Linked DNA regions of Homo sapiens: region 2 is linked to region 1. Evidence: promoter capture Hi-C in 16 types of primary human blood cells and fetal thymus (Javierre and others, 2016). All regions are on one chromosome and are shown on one strand. Each heading gives the region's core, a stretch centred on a gene start or on the middle of the fragment in contact. The rest is flanking DNA. Distances are from core to core; before and after follow the strand shown.

Evidence for each region. The method cuts DNA at HindIII sites, captures the fragments that hold promoters and counts their contacts. A CHiCAGO score of 5 or more calls a contact.
Region 2: a fragment that was not itself captured here is called in contact with the fragment with the promoter of PLEKHA1 in region 1 in 1 of 17 cell types (total CD4 T cells); the score reaches 6.3 in total CD4 T cells.

Annotation. Positions count from the first base shown.
Region 1 is chr10:122,372,421-122,376,896 of GRCh38, reverse strand. PLEKHA1 (pleckstrin homology domain containing A1) reads right to left here and starts at 2,189. Exons shown (of 12, transcript NM_001001974.4): 1 at 2,091-2,189. RefSeq lists silencers at 1,582-1,781, 1,792-1,951, 1,972-2,041, 2,082-2,191, 2,332-2,481. The HindIII fragment of the contact is 9,419 bases long and covers 1-4,476 here.
Region 2 is chr10:125,723,528-125,727,867 of GRCh38, reverse strand. EDRF1 (erythroid differentiation regulatory factor 1) reads right to left here. Exons shown (of 25, transcript NM_001202438.2): 4 at 3,932-4,057; 5 at 2,426-2,550; 6 at 2,030-2,186. Among named protein-coding and RNA genes, the nearest start is that of EDRF1, 6.0 kb to the right of the region's middle. The HindIII fragment of the contact is 1,424 bases long and covers 2,363-3,786 here.

The DNA.
Region 1 (4,476 bases), core at 940-3,439:
GTCAATATTGTCATATCCTATATGTTAGCAAACGATACTTGAATGACTTTTAAAGAAAAGAATCCAATGCTATTCTTAACATCCTTAAACACTTCTAAAAAGGTCCTTCCGGCTTATGAACTCATGGCAGTTTCCTCACAATTGTATACTTATCCTGTTTCACTGTCTCTCCTAGTCTATGACAAACTCAATTTTACACACCATCTTTCCTATTTTGTTACACTGCTAAAACTGGGGAGAAAAAAAGATACAAACCTGCTACTTTCCCCCCTCCCAAAGCGACAATGAAAATACTAATTAACAAGATAAAGATTGGAAGCTCTGCGCGCGCCCGCGCGGTGTGTATACACATATATTTATATTATATATATATATATATATATATATATATATATCTTCTTAATGTCACTAAATTCACAGCCATATATCTTGATACAGGTATACGCTACAAGAGAAAACTGTCAGTAGATACAGTGTAAGGTTTACGGCAGTATAAAATAAATTAACTACTTTATTAATTCAAATTCTGTCAAACTTAAATACTCTTTTTTAAATGTATCAGTACTCTAAAATGCAATTTTCCTTGGGAAAATTGGCCAAGATAAAAAATACTTTAACTCCACTAGGGGAAATATTTCTTTTGCCACAAGTGTGTCAACAGGAAAAATTAAGAGCATGAAAAGTAAACAGGTATTTTGATCAGAATAAATCTTATTATTTTAATATAACGGGTCTTCAAGTTCTTCAGATTGTGAAGAAAAACACAGTTTCACAAAACAATCACATAACTCTTACCCAAACTTTGCTGTAAATGGTTTCAGTGGCATCAAATTAACATAGAAAGTATGCAAGCTGAGTACTTGGGAAAATAAAGCAGATTGATCAGGAGTTCTAAGATGAAAGACAATGGTGTAAACCTCATAGTGCACTATTTGTTCCAGTCATTAAACACACAGGAAATAAGATTTTCTATTTAGAAAACTAACTCACAAGGGGCAATGACTTCATTAAAACAAAGAAAATCTTATTAAAACAACGATCAATTGTAAAATAAGAAAACCAGTACTGCAGAATTGGAAGGTGAAACAAACAGACGAGGAAAACGCAGAAACTGCCTGGATATTTATTTGTTCCTTGAACCTCTTCTTGTACTGCCCCCAGAGAGCAAAGGAGTTTCATTATTTATACGCCCAGACCACGGTAGATGCTCTGCGCGGGGGCACAGCCTCACCAGAATTCTACCAAAGGCGGTAAACACTATAAGCAACAGGACCGCTTTCATTATGACACACTTTCCCCTCTTTCCAGGAGGTCAATAGAAAGCATCTGAAACAAACCACAAACCACTCAAGACGGCCCCAAAGCTCTGCGGTTGGCAGCTGGCCTCGGCGTCGAAAGACCTGGGTCTGGTCGCCTCCCCGGTGCCACCTGCGTGACCTTGGGCAAGTCGCTTTCAACGCTGCCTCTGGCCACCTGCCCCGAAGGTGCGGAGGTAAATCGCGGACACCGCCCGACTTCAGGGCCCAGGGCGGAGCCGGCTTCGGCCTCGGCAAGTCCTGAAGCCAAAATGCATTAAACACCAGGAAAGGATGCCCGGGGACGCGCGCCCCGCGGGCACAGCCCTGGAGGGAGGCGCTCCGACCGGCGCCACCGGGAATCCCCGGGCAGCTGCGCGCACCGCGCCCCGAGCGGGATTTCTCGGGGGGCGGAGACGCCGAGGAGCTCGTCGGCCCCGCGACCGCCGCGGGCCTCCCGCCCTCCCCCGCCGGGCGCCGCTGAGGGCTGACGTCGGGAAAACAATCGGGGACCCACGGGAAGAAGACGCCGCCCCCTCCCGCTGCCCCAAGCCAGGGCAGGTGAGCCGGCCCGGCGGCCTCCAGGTGCTGTGGCGCGTGGCGCGGACGTGCGCAGAGGGGGCGCCGGCTCCGCACTCACCAGCACCCACCGCCCCTCTGCGGACGCCTCCCCGCTCGCCACAGCGGGAACCGCGCTCCAGCAGCCCGGCAGCCCCGCAGCCGCCGCCACCTCGCGCCTGGCCCCGTCCACCACCCCTGCTCCAGCGCGGCCGCGTTCTTCAAGCTAAACTTTACCGCGGCCTCGGCCCGGAGCACCCGCGCCGCCGCGGCCCCGGCTCCCACAGAGGCTCGGCTGCCCGGAGCGGCGTCCGCGACGGCCAGCCCGCGCACTGCGCACGCGTCCCCACGCTGCCTCAGCCCTCAGACGGCGGCTGAGATTCCGGAGCGGGCGCTCCCAGCCCGCAGAGACTACGAGTCCCGGCAGGCCCCGCGCGGGTCCCTGCGGCGTGGCGGGCCGAGTTTCTGGCGTCTTCCTGGTTCCAGCGGCGGCGGCCTCGGCGCGCCGGGGAGGCCTGCGCGCGGAGCTCTGGGCCGCCGCGCCGCGGTGCTTCCTGGTATTCGTAGTTTTTGACCACCACTGGGCTTGGCTCGGAGGTAGAACTCCGGGTTCTCTGATGTCATCGCCTAGAGCTGCGAGGAACAGGGATCTTTAAAAATAGGCTTCGTTAGTTTGCAGATAATTTGTTTGCAAGCTGTCCCATAATCGGTCCAAGTGTCACAAATTTACAGGCTGCGGTGTGACCTGGAGAAAAACGCTTTACAGCTCTGCGCGCCAATTTTTCGCTCTTCTCTCTCCCTGCAAATGTAGCTCCACTGCCTACTTACAATGGTGTTAATAGTACAGGAGGGTAAGAGAGACTTAAAGAAGGGTTAGTCGAAATTCTTTCAGCAACGGTGGAGCATAAATATGTATTCTGGTAAATATTCGTTGAGTGTTTAGCAATTTCTCGAGCACTTAACTGTGTGCCAAGTACGCGATAGGCAACCCGGCATTCATCTGAGAAAGAGACACTGTCACTGCCCTTATGGAGCCTGCAGCTTGGGGGAAACTCGTCCGCAAACTAGCAAAATCGTTCCAGATTTTAATAGAATGGCCAGACTGAGAAAGTTCAAGAGACAGTAGCGGTGGCGGGGACGGGGGGAGGCTCTTCAGAGAGAGTGGCAAGGCAAGTTCTCTGAGGATGTGATATCTGAGCTGAAACCTGAAGAATGAGAAATATTCAGACAGGCAAAGAACTGGGAAAGAATTACATGCCACGCCTTTCACAGCGCATGCCACTCTAGGCTCTTAATAAATATTTGTTCTTTTTGTGTGCTTCTTCCTTTCCTCTCCTTGCACAACCTTAGATCACATCCTATCCCCTTCAAACCCTTTAAAAAATCTTTATCAACATCTTTTAGAATATCCTTCCTATGTGAAAATGTACATGAAACAAATGTCCAGTGGTAAGACAAGCTGTACAGCTGCTAGGACAGAAGACACAACCCTGGTGACAGGCTGGAATCTATCTACTTTGCCACTTTCTTTATTTGCGAACTGGGTTAGAAGTCTGGGGGCTCAGCCTGGCCTCCTGACTTGTTTCTCTTCATGGGGCATCATACAGGATTTTGAGTTTGTCTTTATTAAAATCTTAGAGGAAGCCTACCTGTTATCTGAATCAGAGGTGTAGTGAAGAACAGCCCTAGATTTTCCTGTGTAGACTTACCTATGTGACTTTATGCAGAGAGTGACACTTTGCCCTTCTGACCCTCAGTGACCTCGACTGTAAATGAGTGTCATCCACCCTGCCTGCCTTGCAGAATGTTCTCAGAGTCTGATAAATTGATGGAGGTGAAAACATCTTGCAAACTGCATAGAACGGCTCTCTGACTGCCTCTTTGAGACTTAGCATTTTCAATTGCCTTTCATCCAACGTGATATTTTGGTTATCTTTTGAGAAACCTTAGCTATGCAGCCTTGCTGACATCTGTCCCTTTTGGGGTCCTCATCTGTATAATGGTTGAAAGGGTTTGGCCTCACTATAGTTTATAAAGTAGCCAGAGCAGATTGTTTCCTTTGGTCCACACAGTGGGTTTTTGTTGATTTAACTGAATGTGTGGTTAACATTTAAAAATAAAAATCTAGGTGTCACCTGTCTTATCCCTGTAGGCATTTGAGTTTGCCTTCCCTGGCTAGAAGGTCTGGAAGGAGTCTCTAGCTTGTCAGTGCTAGAATCCTAGAAGATTCCAGATGGGAAATTTGTTTATTTGAAATTCAAAGTCAAATTCACATCTTTTATTTGATCTGAAAATACTGGTCCTGAGAATAGAACACTTAGGCCAAGAGCCTCTCACCCTCTCCAGGCTGGACCCGCCGGATCTCTCTCCTAAATGTTGTTTGACATCATTGATGAGTGGTTTGAAATTGTTCCTTTGGCCAATGTGATGGCTCCTGCTTGTAATCCCAGCACTTTGGGAGGCCAAGGTGGGCGGATCACTTGAGGTCAGGAGTTTGAGACCAGCCTGGCCAACATGGTGAAACCCCCTCTACTTAGCCAGGCATGGTGGTGGGCACCTGTAGTCCCAGCTACTCGGGAGGCTGAGGCAGGAGAATCAACTGAACCCACGTGATGGAGGTTGC
Region 2 (4,340 bases), core at 1,825-4,324, 3.4 Mb before region 1:
CTCAGCCTACCACTCAATTTTCCAATCATTAGGAAAGTAGTACTGCCATTAAGAAATACTACTTTAAGCTTTTAATGTCATTGCCTCAACAGAACCCAAGACAGGCATGCGTGTGTTGCTTATTCCACAAACATCTGTCTTACTTGTCATCTGTGTGTGCCAGTAGGCTTGGCACCTGCTTGGGAAGAGTGTGTGACTATAAGCACAGGTGGCTCTCTAGCACTTCTATTGTGCCTTGTCCTCTCCCTCAGGAGTCCTAAGAGAACTTTAAACTCTTTTTTATTTTATTATTTGTTTACACAGACAAGTTATCAACTCATGAACCGATTCTCAAAACAGTTTGCCAGGCAGTTGCTTTAGTCAGAGTATGAGCTCTAGGTTACAACGTTCTCAATAAATGTCTGGCTCTAGGACCATCCCACAGTCACCTATTTAACCTCTATAACTGCTTAACAAAGGCCTCAAGCCAGCAGTTTTAGTTTTTGGAACAAGAATTTGTGCAGAGATAGCTTGCAAATATAAACAAATCTCTAAAGCTGAAATTTAAGCAATATAAGAAAAGTACTCTGTAAGAGACTCTTAAGGCAGGCTAGCTGTGCCTAGGGATACACCACTACTACGATGATCTGACTGTTAGTAGGGCCTTGCTGTGTGTGGAGTACACGGACACAGTGGAGTACTGCTGGAGGAACAGGCCTCTGCAGGCAGAAAGATCTGGGTTTAAGCCCTAGCCTGAGAGTTTCGCCAGCTGTATGACCATGTGAAACATCTTTTGATGAGCGTTAGTTTACTTATTTGTACAATACGCAGCTCCAAGAATGAAAAAAAAAACCTTGTACAAACATACACATGGCATAAGAGCTATTCAGTAAATGCCAGCTTGCTTCCTCAACACGCAAGTCTACAGATTCCCGACTCTCCAAGAGTTTTCACAGTAATTCCTAAACAAGGTAAAGACAGAACAACACTGGGAGATGGGTGACATGGGTAATAGGAGGGTAGTATTTGTATTATGTAGTCTTTTCTCCCTTCTGAATCATAGAACATCCCTACTTCTTGGTTGTTACCACTATGTGACTTGCATATTAATTACTTCCTTTTCCTTACATTTTTCTCACTTTTGAAAGAAATTTAAATTCATTATGGAGTTTTATGGGATGCTTTCTCTATCTTAAACCTACTGAAACTAAAATCGAGTTAAATGTATCTGCTCCCTGTAATTTGTGAAGATTGAAACAATCTGGTTGAATAGTGCTCAATATGTGGGAACACAACAGCAAGAGGGAAGACGTAACTTATCAAGTCACAGATCTTATTATCTATTTATCAATCTATTTTCCTGAAAATAGACATGTCACAATTTACATCTATGGCTTTATTTTATTCTTTGATAGATACAGTAAGTACAAAAATAAACAAGCATTAGGAAGAAACAAGGATGTAAGAGATAAAATGGACAACCTAGTTCATTCTCTTTTCTAAAACTTTTATAACATGAATGTGGACTAAGTTTCAGGAATTTTATCTGGAAAACCTTAAAGGGATATTTTAGGTCTAACAATCTGACTGAAAGTTATGGTAAAAAGGTTAGAACTTAAATTACAAATGGGTCTCTGAGTCTCAATATTTGGTAGGAAATGTCTATCAAATATTGACAGATATTTATAGTTAAAATAGTATTTATAGTTAAAAATGACTAGTATTTATAATTAAAATATACTATATCTCTATATAATACTCATCACTTGAAGGAGATAATCAGTATTAATAAACATATCAGTCAACTATTATATTTCGATTTAATAAAAAAATCTGATCTCCCCACCTATAATAGCTCTTGTAAATTCTATTGCGAAAAACTAAAAAGTATTTCTCCAATTCCATAAATTGACAGAAGTCTTTTTTCCCCCATTCCATAAGCTGACAGAATATTTCTTAGTCCTGTTCATCTTTTTTTTTTTTTAACGAGATGTTAAAAAAGGCTTTGTTTTCCTATGTGAGTTTCTAGAATTAGCATTTAAGTACTAACCTGACTGGAAGCACTGGGATCTTCAGAAACTGAAGAAGGCATTTCGAAGGGAGCAGGCCATGAAGCCCCTTCCGAATCATTTGTCTGATCTGAACTGGACGATTCCTGCTGTTCTGCGGTGGATGAGACAGGCTGAGCGGCTCCATCACCATTGATACTGGCCAAACCAGAAATAAAAAAGGATTGCTGTTACTAAAGTTAACTTCATGCAACAGTCTACCCGTTTATAAAAACTACAATCTGTAATTAAGCATACATCTTGTAAAAAAGAAATATGAAACAAATGTTAACAGTATCACAGGGGCAAAACTTAAATTATAACTTCATTAAGCTTCACACTAAATTTTAGATCAGAATTCCCTTTTTCTCTTTAGAGATAAATAAGTAGCCAAGTACCTGTAATATAAAAACTTGGAAAGAATTGCCTTTTGATACCAGTGCTCTTTGCTCTTTTTCTTCCTCTGCCACTTCTGATCAATGAGTCTTTGATAAAACTCTTTCAACCATGTCCAGTCACCAGTCTGGATAACATGAGATACATATTATTAATACAACACACATAGTCGAAACAATGTTACCTAGTACTAGCTTACAGAAAAGGCTCCTATTATTTTTTGAATAGTTTCATAAACACATACTCATTAAAAACATATCTTTCTGGGTCAATTCATACCACCTTTCTTTTGTTTTTTGTTTCCTAAAGGAAACCCGTCTTCCTCCTCCTAAGCCAGGCTGGGAGAGGTGAGTCTTCTCTATAACATGTTCCTTAGCAGCTGCAGTAGTTCCCACTTTGCACACTATATTGAAATGATCTGTGTATGTGTTTATAACCCCAAACAATGAACTGCTGAGGAGCAAGGCCTGTGATTTGTTCACTGTCACATCCCCGTGCCTAGGCTCATACTCACATGATGAACTAAACGGTGGTCTTTTCAAAGGAAAAAAGCACTTATTTTAAATGTCATTTACCTCACCATAATTTAATTTTCTTTATCAAAGCACTGTAGTAATATTCTTTAAAGACTGACCATGAACTATTTCTTGCCAGCCCAAGAAAAGTACAGATATGGAGGGTAGTTCTTGAGAAACTGCAACAATGTTATTATGTTTTTCAAAAGTATCCATTCTCAACATGTGGGAAAAACAGTCCTTACCAACATACAATTTGAGAATCTAGGCTAAAGAGCATCAATTAATTCTAATAACTACAGCCATGTGTCATTTAACAATGGGGATATATTCTGAGAAGCGCGTCATTAGGTGATTTTGTCCTGGTGTGAACATCGCAGAGTGTTACTTATAGAAACCTGGATGGTACAGCCTACTCCCTACCTAGGTCATACGGTATAGCCTATTGCTCCCAGGCTACAAATCTGTACATGTGACTGAAGTATTTGTGTATCTGAACACTGCAAATACAGTAAAAATACAGTATATTATAATCTTATGGGACCACCGGTATATGCAGTCCATCGCTGACTGAAACGTCATTATGGGAACATGACTGTATTTATTCATAGGAACAGCTTCTAATATTTTTCACATTTTCCAGTAGCTGTGTTTCCTGAGAATCTGTTTAAGGGAGACGTTAAAGGATTCTTAAAAATATTAAACTAGTCCCTTAAATTTCACAGTTTTTTTCACAACTTTCTTCATTGGCTTCATCTTTTTTCTTGTAAAAAAGAATCTGGCTGTTGGAATCAATAAAATAATTTTCTTCACCATTCTCATTCTCTTCTTTTTTCTTCATTCAAGCTTTTCTATCTTCAGTGAAACTTTCAATTTCTCGATTGTTGAAGTACTCAACTACATTTCCACTTTGGCCATTCTCTGAAACAAAATCGTATTTCTAGTGCTCTTAAGCTGTTAATGTTTTGTTGGATTTTTTCACAAAAGCATTACCTGAGACGATCTCATAAAGAGTTCTTGAATATCTAGCTCATCTAGTAAGAGAGTCCTTCCTATGCGGTGTACTGCCATGCTCACGTGCGACTTGCTGTAGGGAATTTTCAGGAGTTTTTTTATGTTCTTAAAAAATTAAGAGAAAAAATAGTTTAGAAAGACTGTTTTAGTGTGATTTGGAATCTTTTAAATTTTAGCTTCATTCATTTTAAAGCATAATAAACCTTATTTCCTTAAGGTTATACAAATAGAACTTTAAACAAAAAGCTACATGCAAACACACAGAGGACGGAGCTTTCAAACCAGAATCACGTACACTTTATGAGTCACATTATGTTAGTGACAGTCAAACATTTATTTTTACATGATAGGATTTCTTAAAGTTAAGGGTGTATACGTCACACTGTTA